2 separate regions of the Homo sapiens genome follow, and region 1 is linked to region 2. The links are contacts of gene promoters, found by promoter capture Hi-C in human tissues and cell types (Jung and others, 2019). All regions are on one chromosome and are shown on one strand. Each heading gives the region's core, a stretch centred on a gene start or on the middle of the fragment in contact. The rest is flanking DNA. Distances are from core to core; before and after follow the strand shown.

The links. The method cuts DNA at HindIII sites, captures the fragments that hold promoters and counts their contacts. A contact is called where the count stands out against the background at its distance.
Region 1: a contact is called between a fragment that was not itself captured here and the fragment with the promoter of MOCOS in region 2, in 1 of the 25 tissues and cell types used here (dorsolateral prefrontal cortex).

Annotation. Positions count from the first base shown.
Region 1 is chr18:37,200,938-37,205,454 of GRCh38, forward strand. The region is part of intron 9 of KIAA1328; the gene reads left to right. Among named protein-coding and RNA genes, the nearest start is that of SNORA111, 260 kb to the right of the region's middle. The HindIII fragment of the contact is 4,141 bases long and covers 234-4,374 here.
Region 2 is chr18:36,184,945-36,189,313 of GRCh38, forward strand. It overlaps MOCOS (molybdenum cofactor sulfurase), which reads left to right and starts at 2,553. Exons shown (of 15, transcript NM_017947.4): 1 at 2,553-2,737. The coding sequence starts at 2,596. COSMOC (cell fate and sterol metabolism associated divergent transcript of MOCOS) reads right to left here and starts at 2,491. Exons shown (of 2, transcript NR_134605.1): 1 at 2,291-2,491. RefSeq lists an enhancer at 775-1,597 and silencers at 2,357-2,620, 2,466-2,655. The HindIII fragment of the contact is 25,317 bases long and covers 1-4,369 here.

The DNA of each region.
Region 1 (4,517 bases), core at 1,054-3,553, 1.0 Mb after region 2:
ATTGATTGTCAAAATATTAGTATCAAGGTGTCTCTTATAGCCAGGAGGGTTCATTTCTGATTAGTCCCATCCCAAGTCAAGGGGGAAGGGGAGATGTCTCAGTGAGGAATTTTTAGGAGCACCCAAAATCTAAATTGGGATGACATCACAGTGTGGCAAAAAGATCTTAGTGAAATCTTTGATCTATATCACTGCTCTTGCTTGTTGAAACATCTTTAGTCTTTATAATTCCATGATTATAATTTTCTCAAAAGTAAAACAATGAGAGATACATAACATTAGTAATTTGAATGGTAGAAGTACATTGCACACAAGGTTACAATCAAAAAGAAAATCTGTATGCTAAAATGGAAAAATAATCTATTCTACTAGGGTGCCAATGAAAAAACATCATAAAGAAAATTTAAATCAGGTTCTTTTTTTTCTAGAGACTTGTAGCCAGGAAATAATTCAGGATTCAGTCTAAATTGTAGAAAAATAATAAAAGCAGGGCTGGAATCTATAACAGGTATGTTATAGTTTTCTTCTGAAATATAATTTTTCTCTCTCCAGTTCCCCTTTTTTACCAAAGAGAAGTCATAGTAAGGCCAGCTTATTTGCAAAATAAGTTTTAGTCTTACTATACCTGGTATGATTGTTTGCATAAAGGGCAGTAAGAATAGTGGTTGGCCGTATAGTATTCTTTTAAGTTGGCTTTACTGGAACTTTTTAATAAGGAATTTTAGATTAGACTTTTAAAAACCTCTCAAGGCTAAGAAGCAAAGCCAAGGATTCACCATCAGACTGTGCCTGTAATACATGTACAAAATAGGTGAACTCTTCTTGAGGTCCCCAGAATATCTTGAGATTCCTGGCCTATCAGAAAGTGGCATTATTTACTTATCTCAAGGTCAGGAACCTTGTAGGGATTCTGTATTGTATCAGGGAACTGTATTGACAAGGTACTGGACCAGTCTTTTACCAAGTCTGTTGGCTTTCTAAAAGCAACCTCATTTCCTCAAAACAGTCTGGTCACATTTAAAAATATGATATTCGTCAACGCCTTGGTGAAATAACCAGCATTTCCAATTGTGACCTGTTACAATAGAGAACACATTCTTACTGAACTTATGTGAACAACTATATTGCCATAAAATAAGAATACTCATGAATAATTTCCAAATTCTGGAGAAATCAGGCCTAGAGAAAGGTAAATGCTTCCATTTTTTTTTAACAAAAGCATACTTTACCCAGTTGCTTTAAGCTATGAATGGCTCAAAAGAAAATTTTCTTGATTCCAAAAAAACAAATATAAAAAGAATCAGAAGTGTTTCAAATGAAAGGTTATAACAAAATTATTTCAGTCCTCTATCAGTTCAGTCCTATGTAATTAATTCCTGCTCTGCTTTATATTGGGTTGGTAATCTTTGTAAACCCATCAGTTTGTTGTAGTTATTGTTTGTTTGTTTTATTTAGAGTTCTGAAGGGTTTTACCTGGTCCAATGGTATGATCTCCAAAGTTATCACAAACTTGTATTCAAGAGTACTTGTCAGTGTCTTTTCCATGAATTTCCTTGAAGAAAAAGCAAATTTTGGACTGTAGCTAACTGTAAACCACTTTTTGGGAAGAATCATAGTAAAACAATAATTGTCACTGGATGATGAAAGACTTAGAGTAGCCGTGGTTAAAGACACAATTAACAAGGAAATTTGGTGATTTCTGTGGCAAACAACAGTTTAATATAATCATCACCAATATGATTGATGACATATACCAAGACATATCAGAATTTAAGAATATCATACAATTTTGGAATGCATATTAATAACATATTTATATAAATATGACTCAAGGTTAAACACCATTATTATTTGACAATGTGTCTTGCATGATTTTAACGTAAATTTGATTTGGGGAAGTATGTCAAATAGCAAAGGTTTAAAACATTTGATATCAAAAGTAAGATCACAGGTCATTATAAATTAATGATTATTCATTTAGCCAAAGCAATAATTCAAAGATTTCAAAAAGCAAAAACCTTTACTCTTGGACAGAGAAGAGACTCAGTTTTCCCAACAATCAAAGAGACCTAATAAATACAGCATGACACAAACAGAATCTATTTCTCCCCCTTTTCCTTTTTTTTTTTTTAAAGTTTACTCAAAAGGTAAACCAAAATCTTTTATTATATCTTATTAATGCTGTATGAAAATCATATTCAAAAGAGAAAACTAAATTCTACCTTCATATCAATGTATTGTTAATATTAAAACTAATTTTAACAAAACCTTATAAACAGATCCACCCAATCTCAGTCAGCTCTGACCACACAAGATAAGATTTTCATAAACCTTTTATAGTTTTTTCCATTTCATAAACATTTTATAAACTTTTATAGTTTTTCCCATTCTCTTTCCCCAACTTTCTATATCCATTTGGTTTTATCTATCATTCCTTTTTTATTGCTTCAACTTAAAGTAACCTTTAAATAACTTATAAATTACAAAAAAAATCCTCGTCTTTCTTATAACCTTTCTTACCAAAAACACATCTGACTTTTCTTATATATTCTGTATATAGAATGTTTCTATTTTTTAGTAGTTTTAATTACATATATTAATTACAAGGTTAACTCCTAGTAACCCTAATTTTCAGTGAAAAGCCTAGGAAGTATGCAATTTTAATGTTAAGTACCAGGTACAGAGCCCAAGACAAAAGATAGGTCTGTGAGGATAACATCTGGTATATCTGACCCTTCCCAGCATGGCCAGGAGGCACAGCCAGGCCAGGGAGGGCATACTGGTTTGGCTTTGCCCTGCAGCTGTTGGCCTAGGTGCTGTGGTCATACATATGCCCTCAGGCCTTTCCATGGCTACCTACCTAGAACCCAGATTCTTTTTTTTTTTTTTTGAGACGGAGTCTCGCTCTGTCGCCCAGGCTGGAGTGCAGTGGCGCCATCTCAGCTCACTGCAAGCTCCGCCTCCCGGGTTCATGCCATTCTCCTGCCTCAGCCTCCCCAGCAGCTGGGACTACAGGCGCCCGCCACCACACGCAGCTAATTTTTTTGTATGTTTAGTAGAGATGGGGTTTCACCATGTTAGCCAGGATAGTCTCGATCTCCTGACCTTGTGATCTGCCCGCCTCGGCCTCCCAAAGTGCTGGGATTACAGGCGTGAGCCACCACGCCTGGCCGGTGAACCTAGATTCTAAGAGAGCTTTAAGACATAAGCTCACAGACAAGGACGTATCTAAAAATACCAGAGAAGCAAGAGTTTTATGACCTTAAAACATCTAGCAGAGACAACCTAAACCTGTCAAACCAGTAGACTCAGGCAAAATGTTTGAATTATATTTAATACTGACAATTCAGAAAACATGCCTATTTTATTCTAACAATTTTTAAACTAGTTTTATTTACCAAAGATTACTAAGTCACGTGAACTTGAAAAGTATTTGGGCTTATTTATGAATGCTCATTTATTTATAAGTCAATTTGGTATCATAGACAATATACAAACAGACATGTACACAGGTATACATAAAAATACAAAGACTTTATAGCTTTGATTTTAAGTTTTTAGTCATAAAACCATTAAAACTCCCCAGTTTAAAAGGATAGTTGGATTCAAACTGTGCATTTGTAAATGGAACAGGCTAAAGTCTCACATGGCCAAAGCCCTTACTGAGTTTTAGAGCATAAGGTAGTAAATTTATATTTCAAAGCACAGAGAAAGAGTTTAAGCTTTCCAAAAGGCCAGTGAAGTTTTATATTTTTTTCACTAAAATCATATCAATATGAAAGGAAGCAGAGAGACCAAACACATAATTAAAAAGGAGTTTCAGTCAAAAAAAAAAAAAAAAAACACCTCTCAAGAAACAGGATCCAAAAGAGAAAATGCAGAAAGGCCTTTAAAAAAAAGTATACCCTGAATATCAGCTTTTAATTAAGCTGACTTCTGAGCATAGAGCTTTTTTTAAAATTCTTTTAAAATCTCTTTATCAGAATTCAGCCAGGACAAACAACCACTATTTATGGCTTTTGACCTTGTTGTTGTTGTTGTTGTTGTTTTAAACCAAAGGCACCTTCTCAAGAGACTCAACAAAACCAATAAGCCTTAACCAAGGTTATGCCTTTACCAAGGACGCACAAGTCATCTCCAAAGAGGTGCAGTGCAGTCCTCAATAGATCCAGAAACAGTCCCAAAGACAGCTGAAAGAAAGCAAAGTCTCACTAGCCAAAAATGGGGTACAACCCACATTTCTGTCCAACCATATCATCTGGGATCTCAGCTCCTCAGCTGACTGACTGACTACACATTAAGGCCAGAAGGAGGACTGAAAGAGGCAGTAAAACAGGAGAACAAAAGCTGCCGTGGGGATAGTGCCAAAGGTGGGAAAATGTGAGAAGGTAAGTTTATGGGAAGAGTAAAGTCTGCTCCTAGATTCTCTGGGGCTGTCTCTAAGCTAATAAGCAAGCCTTATAAAGGGGTCTCTCTTTAGGTGGGAAAAGACAGGCAACAAAACCCATTTCTTTCTA
Region 2 (4,369 bases), core at 1,303-3,802:
GCACTCAGCCCACATTGCCTTGTGGCTAGTGTAGGTTCATTTTCCTACTCAGCTGTAGGTGCTATCTTCACATCCACCCTCCCAAGCACACAGTGCCCTAGATGGGCATAGCCAACTGCTTTAAAGTATTTCTGGATTAATGGTAGATCCGTGATTTTTAATAACCTTCAGGAGTTCTGCACTGACTTGGCCTATTCCAATCCATCACTAGGCGAGCTTGTCTGAAGCAGCACCCCTGTGGACTGGTGGTTTGTTAGTTGGCTGTAGAACTCCTTGAGGAGAGGTTCTCCTTACATTTCCAGGGAAATGACCTAGGCCCTCCCTCCTCAGAGTGCCATTCGTGAATGGGGCATCAGCATCACCTGGGCTACTTAGAAACACAGAACCTCAAAGAGTCAGAACCTGCCTTTGAATAGGCTCTCTAGGGGATTCATGCAAATGAATGCCTGGAAACCCTGGCCTAGGGGAGACTCTCACCAGGAAGCAGGGCTTTAAAAGGATGGGTGAGGAGTGACACACTGAACAGCTGCTGGGAGGACCAACTCACCCCTCTCAACTTAGATGGGGAAACTGAGGCCCTGGGAACCACGGTGGCTCACACCAGAGAGTTAGCAAAACACACTTCCCTGCCTGGGCTCTGGAGACTGACTTCCCAGGTGCTAGCTTGTCTTCTAGCTGTGTGCCCGTGTGCAAGTTATTCTGCCTCTCTCTGCCTCAGCTTCCCCATCTGTAAGAGCCACCTCCTAGATCTGCATATTTAATCATTGAACGACCAGGACAGGTAAGAGTGTACACAGTGCAGTGCCTGGCACACAGTGAGGCCCTGTAACTAGCTCTTGTTATTAGTGCTGCCCAAAGCCACATTCACAGAAGACAGTCCAGTATCCAAAGTGCCTGCTTGAAGCATGGCCAGAAGGCAAGCAGATGGTGGGGTGGGCAGTGATGTCAATGAGCAAATGCCTGCATCCATCCATCAGTACATTAACTCCTCCTCGAACAACTATGGGTGTTTGTCGAGTAAGGTCCTGGACATTCAGCAGTGAGGGAGAGAGCGGGGGTGGTCAGTGGGCAGAGGCCACTGAGGAATATGGGTACCTGGGCATGGACCCTAGCGCTGCAGTCCACAGACCCCTGGGTCTCCGGCCAGGGGGAAATGAGCTCTTAGTGGCGGGTCTTTCTCTGGCCTGGTATCAGGGGCCTGGGCGGGAGAGCCAGGGCTGCGTGCTGCCTTCCCATGGCTCTCACGCTGGGCACCGGTATGCATCATGCATCAGCAAGGATCCTAGGGCATCTGCGGCCCATACCCTGGGTGGCAGCTGGCCTGGATGCAGCACAGGTTGAGCTCTTGGGGCATAGGCCTCCTTCCCACCTTGTCCCCCCGCTGTATGCCTCCAGGGCCTGTGGGCCGCCTGCACCTGGTCGCCGGCCTTGGGTTCTCCACCGAGCCTGCCTCTGAGTTATCTCCCCTGAGCCCCAGCACCTGCCGCCCATCCGCACTGTCCACCATCCCTGACATTCGATTCCCCCACGAGGCACCTCGCCTGTGCGTGCAGTACCTGTTTTGCTTCCACCCCATTCCCAGCAGCGGGTTCCGCACCTGGGATCGCACGTGAGATTTCCCCCCACCCCCCAACCGCATGCCTGGGCTCTACTACCTGCACCTGCCGCCCCACCCCTGCATCCCGCTCCGCACTTCCCGCGCATAGGTTTGGCCAGGCCCTCCCTATTGAGGCACCTGTTCTCCAAGACAGAGCCGCTGTGTCCCAGGTGCTCTGGGTGCAGGCGCGAGTGGGGATTGAAGGAGGCGCTCTTATTCCACTCTGTCCGGGACAGGGGCGGCTTTGTCCTAGGGCACTCTTGCTTTAATAGAGAGGGCCCGGCCACACCCACGTGCGGGAAGTGCGGGGCGGGATGCAGGGTTGGGGAGGCAAGGGCAGGAAGTAGGGCCCAGGACGCGGTTGGGAGGGCGGGGAAGCTCAGCTCACTTGGATCCCAGCTGCAGGGCCCGCTCCGGGGGAAGCCCCCGAGCTTCCCGGTTCCGAAAGTGTGCAGCCACTGAGAATTTATTAGCCTCGTGGATCCCTAATCTTTCCCCTTTTCTACCCTTTGGTCAGCCGCATTCTAACAAACGGCAAGCACACGCCCCGCTGGGTAGCAGCAACCCGAGAACGCCCCCACCCCCGCCCCCGCCAGACGCCGGTTCCCGCTTGAGAGGGTGAGGGTCCCGAGACCCCTGCGAGGAGGAGGGTCGCGGGGTTCCAGGATGCCGATGCCAAGCAGGAAAGATCACCTCGTTGCTTCTTCCACCGGCCTCTCCGCGAGACATAGCTAAACTTGAACTTGGCATTCCAAGGGTCTGGAAACATCTTCGTGGGACCCATCGAGAGGTTGTTTAAAGACTGGCACCCGCTCCCGCGCCCAGGTGGGGAAAGGGCTGGCCAGAAGTGAAAGTCCGGTCGGGGCGCCACACCTAGGCTGCGGATTCCGAGAGACTGGGAGGCTGGAGGCCTGGGAGGCGTGGCGGGGGCGGAGTCGCCGGGGGCCGGCTTCGCGCACTTCCCGGGCCCGGCCGGCCTGGATGGACTAGCCGGGGCCATGGCCGGCGCGGCGGCGGAGTCAGGGCGGGAGCTGTGGACCTTCGCGGGTTCCCGGGACCCGAGCGCACCGCGGCTAGCCTACGGCTACGGCCCGGGCAGCCTGCGCGAGCTGCGGGCGCGCGAGTTCAGCCGCCTGGCAGGTGAGGCGGGCGGGCAGGCTTGGGGGACACGAGGTTTCTGGAACCGACGTGGACGGATCTTTTGCTCCTAGTGAGAGCGGCGCTACCTCATTCGGGCGCATTTTGAATCGAAACTCCAGGAGGGACGTGTCCACGCGTCCTCCTAGTAGACACGGCTCCCTGAGGTCCCACCTGCAGCCCCAAGGCTTCTTGCTACTCTTACTCTTCCGACTTTCCGGTGGGCAGGACCAACCTAGCCGTCTTCCCCTTTTCCCGCCCTCCGCGAGCGGGGCTTAGGATGGTTCTTGCCCTCTCTTGCGGGAGACCCCTCACTGTAAAGGGCCTGCTGGGGCCGGGGTTGCAAAAGACAGCATGTCCAGCGGCCGTGACCCTTCGGATGTCCTCCCGAGGTAGGAGCGGTGCGTGGACCGCCAGCGCCCGGGCTGGGACAGCACCTCTGACGGCGCGCCAGGTTGGGACCGGGAGGCCAAGGCCTCTTGGCCGGGGCCTCCCGAGGCTGCGCTCTGCAGACTCCTCTGGGATAGCCTGTATTCAGCTTTGATTTTCGAAACCTCATTTTCCTTACTCTTACAGCGTCAGAACAATCCCTCTGAGCTCCAGTTCTCTGGGGGACTAGAAGAATTAGCAAACAGTGCAATTTCACCTTTAAGAACAGGGCGAGCCTGTGAATTAGACAACACCAAGATCACATCGTGCCTTTCCTCAGAGCGGAACAGGCTGATGAAATTGCAAATCAAGCTCCATCTGGCCTTGGCCGACCCAGCCCTCTGCTGCCAGGGCCCAAGTTCGTGACTCATCCCTCTGCCAGGGACTTTGGGTGCAGGGCTTCATCAAGCCCCAGGGCCGCGTGCCGGATGGTCAAGGAGGGTGTGCAGGTGAAGTGGGCACGTCTTGGCACAGGGCACCGGGGTTTGAGTGTATCTGCTCTGTCGCGATGAACAACTGGTGACTGCTCCCCTTCTGGGGGCAGAACAGCAACCATGACTTAGGTTTCACTACTCGGGTAGCTGATTTCAGCGCTTCGGGTCACTTCCTGGTGTTGTGGAGGGTAACTGTGTTTTCCCTTTGGGGGCTGTGAGAACTGTGGCCTCCTCCTGTGTGTCTCCTCTGGCTTCCTAAGTAGGGAGAGTCAGGAGGGAGACGGGGGTGCCTTCTGCCAACCTCTCTATTCACTCCTCATCCTTCCCTCTCGCAGGGTCACCTGCTGGAGACAGCTCCTCACCCTTCTTTCGTATTCTCTCTCTCTCTCTCTCTCTCAACTATTAATTATGGAAATTTCCTACCACTCAGAAATAGAGGGGTACTATGAATGCCTACAGGTGCTGGGGAGGGAGGCTCTCCATTCTTTGAAGCAACTCTTCAAGGCTACCTGAGTAATTATATCAGCACCGCACCTCCTTAATCCCCTAAATCTCCTCCAGCTGTGATCTCTCACGCCCACTATTGGCCAACCTCTCCCCTCAATGCTACCCTGGGAAAGTAGAGCTATGTTCTGGTCCCCTCCTGGTTTCACTCTTGTCCCTCAGAGAACAGTACTTTTCCCCTCAAATGCAAAATTGGGATGTGTCAGCCAGGCTGGCCCTCAGAACTCGTTACCACTTACTGTATGTCTGGTAGTGTTGTGGGCATCTT